Linked DNA regions of Homo sapiens: region 1 is linked to region 2. Evidence: promoter capture Hi-C in 16 types of primary human blood cells and fetal thymus (Javierre and others, 2016). All regions are on one chromosome and are shown on one strand. The core of a region is centred on a gene start or on the middle of the fragment in contact, and the rest is flanking DNA. Distances in the headings are between cores, read along the strand shown. Region 1 holds the start of MRPS22 (mitochondrial ribosomal protein S22). Region 2 holds the start of NPHP3-AS1 (NPHP3 antisense RNA 1).

Evidence for each region. The method cuts DNA at HindIII sites, captures the fragments that hold promoters and counts their contacts. A CHiCAGO score of 5 or more calls a contact.
Region 1: a fragment that was not itself captured here is called in contact with the fragment with the promoter of NPHP3-AS1 in region 2 in 1 of 17 cell types (total CD4 T cells); the score reaches 5.4 in total CD4 T cells.

What each region holds. Positions count from the first base shown.
Region 1 is chr3:139,343,350-139,346,556 of GRCh38, reverse strand. MRPS22 (mitochondrial ribosomal protein S22) reads right to left here and starts at 2,537. Exons shown (of 8, transcript NM_020191.4): 1 at 2,359-2,537. The coding sequence starts at 2,530. RefSeq lists enhancers at 1,930-2,049, 2,060-2,159, 2,136-2,430, 2,390-2,479. The HindIII fragment of the contact is 595 bases long and covers 1,322-1,916 here.
Region 2 is chr3:132,720,300-132,722,999 of GRCh38, reverse strand. NPHP3-AS1 (NPHP3 antisense RNA 1) reads right to left here and starts at 1,250. Exons shown (of 11, transcript NR_002811.2): 1 at 621-1,250. NPHP3 (nephrocystin 3) reads left to right here and starts at 591. Exons shown (of 27, transcript NM_153240.5): 1 at 591-1,037. The coding sequence starts at 645. NPHP3-ACAD11 (NPHP3-ACAD11 readthrough (NMD candidate)) reads left to right here and starts at 541. Exons shown (of 45, transcript NR_037804.1): 1 at 541-1,037. RefSeq lists silencers at 75-584, 685-934. The HindIII fragment of the contact is 4,122 bases long and covers 1-2,700 here.

The DNA of each region.
Region 1 (3,207 bases), core at 370-2,869, 6.6 Mb before region 2:
TTTCAGGAATGCTTATAACCACTCACAAAATAGGTACTGATAAACCCAATTTTATAAATGAGGATGCTGAAGCCTATCCAAAGACAACTAGCTATTAAGTGATAGAGTCAAAATTTAAACCAAGGTTTGTCTGGTTCTGGATCCTAGATGGTTTCCAATTTATCATAGCGCTCCTCGGTATAAGTGGGAGGTGTGGGGAGACATAATGTGAGAGGTATGGTATACAGGAGAGGTACGGGGCTTGGGTGATTGCAGAGGAAGAAACTAAGCATAGCCTGGACTAGGGATGGGCATGACAGGGTCAAAGAAAGCGTCCCAAGAGCCTCATCACGGCAGAGAAAAAAGGGAGGGAAAGTCTAGGCTAAGAGATTGCAGCTAGGAAAGAGGCTTGGTTCACTGGACATGATACTGAAGAGGCCGTGTGTTATCATGGAAGAGCCTTTGACATAAGCAGAGAATCAAATCTTAGCTCAGCCTCATGCAGTTTGCTTATTGCTTTGCCTAACTTCTACTTCCATTTCCATTAGCAAAAAAGAAAGAAAAAGCCATTTGTTCCTAGTCACCTCTTCTTCTCCTATAAATGTTGGTATCCCTACAGATTCTGAACGATGTCCTTTTCTCCCTTCTCAGATTCTTACTCGATGATTTCTCCTATCCTGCCACGACTTCAATTACCTTTATATGCCAGAAACTCTAAAATCTGAATCTCCTGCCAAGATCACCTTCCATCCAATTACTCAACCTCTCTCATGTACTTGAATACTGCCAAGTCAGAACCCATCAACTTTCCCTTGTCTCAAACCTGCATTTTCTGTTCCCTATCTCAGCATCATCCAGTAGGCCATACAGGCCAGAAATCTTACAGCCATTCCTAAATTCTCCCTGATCCTCCAGATCTAGCCAATAGCAGTAGTAATAACAACAACAGTAATCAAATAGCTGTAGTAATAATAACAGTAATTATAAGAGCTACCATTTATTAGCTATTTACTACATGCCAATACTGACTGAGCTAAGTACTTTACACATTCAGCCCATTTAATACTCACAACAACCCATGAGGTAAACACGAAGATTATCCCAATTTTACAAAAAAAAAAAAAAAACAAAAAAAAAAACACCACTGGCAGAGAACATACTGATTGTTTGCCTTCATAAATCTCATTTTAATCCTCCATTTCCCACTGCCACTACTCTAGTCAAGGCTATCCTCATCTCTTGCATCAGCCTCCCTTTCTCCATTCTGGCCCCACTACAGATCATTCTCCACAGAGCAACCAGAGTAATCTCTTTAAAATGTAATCAAGATTACTCCCAAGCTTAAAATTCACGAATGGCTTCCAACCTCATTTAGAAAAAAAGTTAAGGTGGTCTGCTTACCTACACTATGTCTCTCACTAAGTGATGTGCTCTATGAAGACCAGACCTTGTCTTATACTCATCTCTGGCACCCAGGGTTCCTCAGGGTATCCAGCACACAGCAAGTGCTCAGCACTACTCTCTCCTCAGTCTCACCCATTCACTCACCTTTAGTTACCATTTTTACTCCGATGTTCCTCACTTTATATTTAACTCCATACTAAACAGTTGACTCTTAAAGTCACCTCAAATTTAATGTGTCCCAAATAGGTTTAATTCCGCCTCCTTTCCCATCTCCTGATCTCATCTACTCCTGCACTACCCCCGCCCCCAAAATAACGGTTCCAACAATTAATTAATCTTCTTCATCTTGGTGTAAATGGGACAACCCTCTATTCCAATCAAAAACTTAAGAAACAATCTTAATTTGTCCCTTTAAACTCATATCCAAAGCCTTAATCAAGCCTTATCAATCCTACCTCCAAAATGGGTTCCCAAATATCTGTGCTCAGTCTCATTTCTGGACATCTGCTACTGTCCCCTATGCTTGAGAAGCTTCTTGCTTTCTCCTTAGCATGGCTAACCAGATCTCAGCTTTGGTCATATTTGCCAGGAACCCTTCCCTGACCTTCCAACCTAGTTTGAGTGCCTCTCCTGTGTGCGTCCCCTATAACAACCCGGGTCACACTGCACTGCCAATTCCCCATGGACATGAGTTCCCACAGGGAAATGTCTGTGTCAGTCTTAGTTTGCCATATCCCACAGAGCTTAGCACAGTGCTCTGCACGGAGCGGAACTCAGGCACTGTAGTTGAGTGAGTGAACGAATGAACAGATATGCAGGTGATGACAAACTCTACAGGTACAGAAGGAAGACAGCTGAATCTGAGGAAGCGCTAGGATACGTGTCGCGGGGGCTATCGCGTGGTTTTCGCCTGCCAGAAACAGGATCTACGTCTCCCAGAAGAACGCCCCAGCGAAAGTCCGGAAGGTCACTTACCGGCCTCGGAGCTGAACCGGCGGCGTGGCAGCCCCATCTCGAAAGAGCAAGGTAGCGGTTGGAGCAGGCCACCGTGCCAGGGCTGGATTCGAGCCCGGAAACAGACCCGTTCCACGCCCGGAGAACTCCTCAAGAGGCTCCACAGCAATACAGTTGTTCCGAGGGGCGCCATGATTATCAGAAGCCACTTGCGCCGGAAGTGGTTGGGAGGGATTCCGAGTCACACCCAGTTCTTGCAGCACTCTGGGAAATGTAGTCTAGTTAAAGGCGGAAAGGGCCGGAAGTCTTCCGGGCCCTTATAGATTGTTTCTTCTAAACTACTTATTCACAAGTAGACGGTGTTTATGTCCTTCCCTATGCATAAAGTTAAAACTTACACCTTTTTCCCTATATGCTCTTTTTCCTACCCGTTTCCATCGTTCTAAATAACAAATTTCCGGCCAGGCGCCGTGGCTCACGCCTGTAATCCCAGCAGTCTGGGAGGCCAAGGCGGGCGGATCACCTGAGGTCAGGAGTTCGAGATTAGCCTGGCCAACATGGTGAAACCCCCGTCTCTACTAAAAATATAAAAATTAGCCAAGCATGGTGGCGGGCGCCTGTACCAGGAGAATCGCTTGAACCGAGGAGGCAAAGGTTGCATTGAGCCAAGATCGTGCCATTGCACTCCAGCCTGAGCAACAAAGCAAGACTCCATCTCAAATAAACAAACAAACAAACACTCTAGCCTGGGTGACAGAGTGAGACTCTTGTCTCAAATAAATACATAATTTATGTATTCCACTTCCTGCCCAAACCTTCTCCCCCATCCTCAGGTTTAAATCCAACTACTTCTTAAATTTCTCCATCCAC
Region 2 (2,700 bases), core at 1-2,500:
GGTCCACTGCTGGTCCTGCACAGTCGCCACTCCCCCCATCCTTCCTGCTAGCCCCGCCCTTCTTGCTAGCCCGCCTGGCCCTGTGTGCTTTCTCGACCCACCCCCGTTTGCCCTGCCCCGCCCACATGCCCCGCCCCACTTGCCCGGCCCCTCTTGTTGTCCCGCCTAGCCCTGCTGCCCCGCCCCGTCCCCCTCGCCCATCCCCCCAGTTCCGCTGCCCCGTCCCGTTCCGCTGCCCCGCCCCTCCAGTTGCCCCACCCCCTTCCGCTCTCCCTCCCCGCCCCGTTCCGCTGCCTCGCCTCGTCCGGCTCTCCGGCCCCGCCCCGCCCCGTTCCGCTGCCCCGCCCCGTCCTGCTCCCCCGCCCCGTCCTGCACCCCCGCCCCGCCCAGTTCTGCTGCCCCGCCCCTCCTGTTTCCCCGCCCCATCCCGCTCCCCCGCCTCGCCCCGTTCCGCTGCTCCGCCCCGTCCCGCTGCTCCGCCCAGTCCTGCTCTCCGGCCCCGCTCCATCCCGCTGGCCCGCCCCGTCCCGTTCCGTTCCTCTGCCCCGCCCCGTCCCGTTCCGTTCCTCTGCCCCACCCCGTCCCGTTCCGTTCCGCTGCCCAGTCCTGCTGGTACTCACTAGGTAGTAGCGGCAACGGACGCCATGGGGACCGCCTCGTCGCTCGTGAGCCCCGCGGGCGGGGAAGTGATCGAGGACACGTACGGGGCGGGCGGCGGCGAGGCCTGCGAGATCCCGGTGGAGGTGAAGCCCAAGGCCCGCCTGCTGCGCAACTCGTTCCGCCGAGGCGCGGGGGCGGCAGCAGGGGCCGGGCCCGGGTCGCTGCCCCGCGGGGTGGGCGCGGGCGGGCTGCTGGGGGCCAGCTTCAAGTCCACTGGCTCGTCGGTGCCAGAGCTGGAGTACGCGGCGGCCGAGTACGAGCGGCTCAGGAAGGAGTACGAGATCTTTCGCGTCAGCAAGAACCAGGAGTTGTTGTCCATGGGCCGCCGCGAGGCCAAGCTGGACACGGAGAACAAGCGGCTGCGGGCCGAACTGCAGGTAACGCCGGGCTGGGCCGCGACGCCGGGAGACCCTTGGGAAGCACGGCCGTCCTGCTCCCTCTCCAAACCAAGCGGCTTTGAAAGTTCGGCGGAAACTGCCCATTTTAATTTGAGAGGCCATATTCTCTTCGAGTCTGAAATGATTCCTTAACCCTCCCCTTTTTCTGTCTCTTTTTTTGGAGACAGGGTCTCGCTGCGGTGGCACGATCGCGGCTCACTGCAACCTGGAACTCCTGGGCTCAATGATCCTCCCGCCTCGGCCTCCTAAAGTTCTGGGATTACAGGAGTGAGCCACCGCGCCTGGTCCCCGCTTTTCTATTTCTGGTTTATTCATTGAGGCACCTAGAAGAAATTAGCCGGAAAGTGTCCTGAGGAGGCAAATGCCAATCTCCAGCTCCACTGCCGCCCCCGCGCCCACCCCCTCAGAAGGCTGGTGACATCTGTTGAAGCAACTCAGCAAACTCTTCCTAGGAGTTTCACCCCCCTCCCCACCATAAAAATTTTAAGTGGGTCTCCAAAGTGGGGCTCAAGTGTCGGTTTCTTTGTAAAGTTTCATCGCTCTTGCATTTTAATGGTCTTGACATGAAAATTTCTGGAAGCCTCCTGATCTCACCATGGTTGAAAACCTTCTCTAGATGTAGTCAAATTTCCCTAGTCCATTTGATTAATTTACGCTAAAAGCAATTATTGCATGCCCTCCATGTAGCAGGTCCATTATAATTCAATAAAATAGTATGTAAAGCAGCCGGGCGTGGTGGCTCACGCCTGTAATCCCAACACTTTTCGAGGCCTAGGCGGACGGATCACCTGAGGTCAGGAGTTCGAGATCAGCCTGGCCAACATGGTGAAACCCCGTCTCTACTAAAAATACAAAAATTAGCCGGGCATGGTGGCACGCGCCTGTAATCCCAGCTACTCAGGAGGCTGAGGCAAGAGAATTGCTTGAACCCGGGAGGCGGAGGTTGCAGTGAGCCGAGATTGCACCATTGCACTCCAGCTTGGGTGACAGAGCGAGACTCCGTATCAAAAAAAAAAAAATAGTATAAAGCAAGAGGTTGCTTTTCTGTGAACGAATCTCTAAAACTTTTTGCCCTCAGTTTGGGGCCCCTCTGGTCGTTGTTGTGTCGTTTGTGTACTCTTTACTGTGGGAGAGACTTATAGGCAGCCTAAGAGTTCCCGGAGTCGTTACAGTCGGGGTGAAATAAATACCTCAGACTGATTTTTCTAAAAGAAAAAAAGCCTCCTGTCTTCAAGACTAGACATTCTTCTAGTCAGGTTTTGTTGTTGTTGTTGTTGTTGTTTTTGTTTTTAAACTCCCTCATTAGCTGTTGTGTAATTATTGTCGTTGTCTGGGAAGAAGTCCGTGTAGCAGTTTATCTGTTGTCTTATCAGTTTTCCTACTGGGCAACCTTAATGCACTTGCATGTATAAAATGGACTAGTGCATTTCAAATATCTGATTCAATGTATCCAAGCCACTGCCCAACAGACACCGCACGTTGGAAACAACTGTGAGGTGGGGGTAGAAAAGGCCAAACCAAACAGGGCGGAGTGCAATAAGGGTTGGCAAGTGTCACAGTCACTCATGTCACCAATCCTGATTCCCTGTGAAACATACTGGTTCCTTTCTCACATATCGAGGCATGAAAAAACTTATCCATA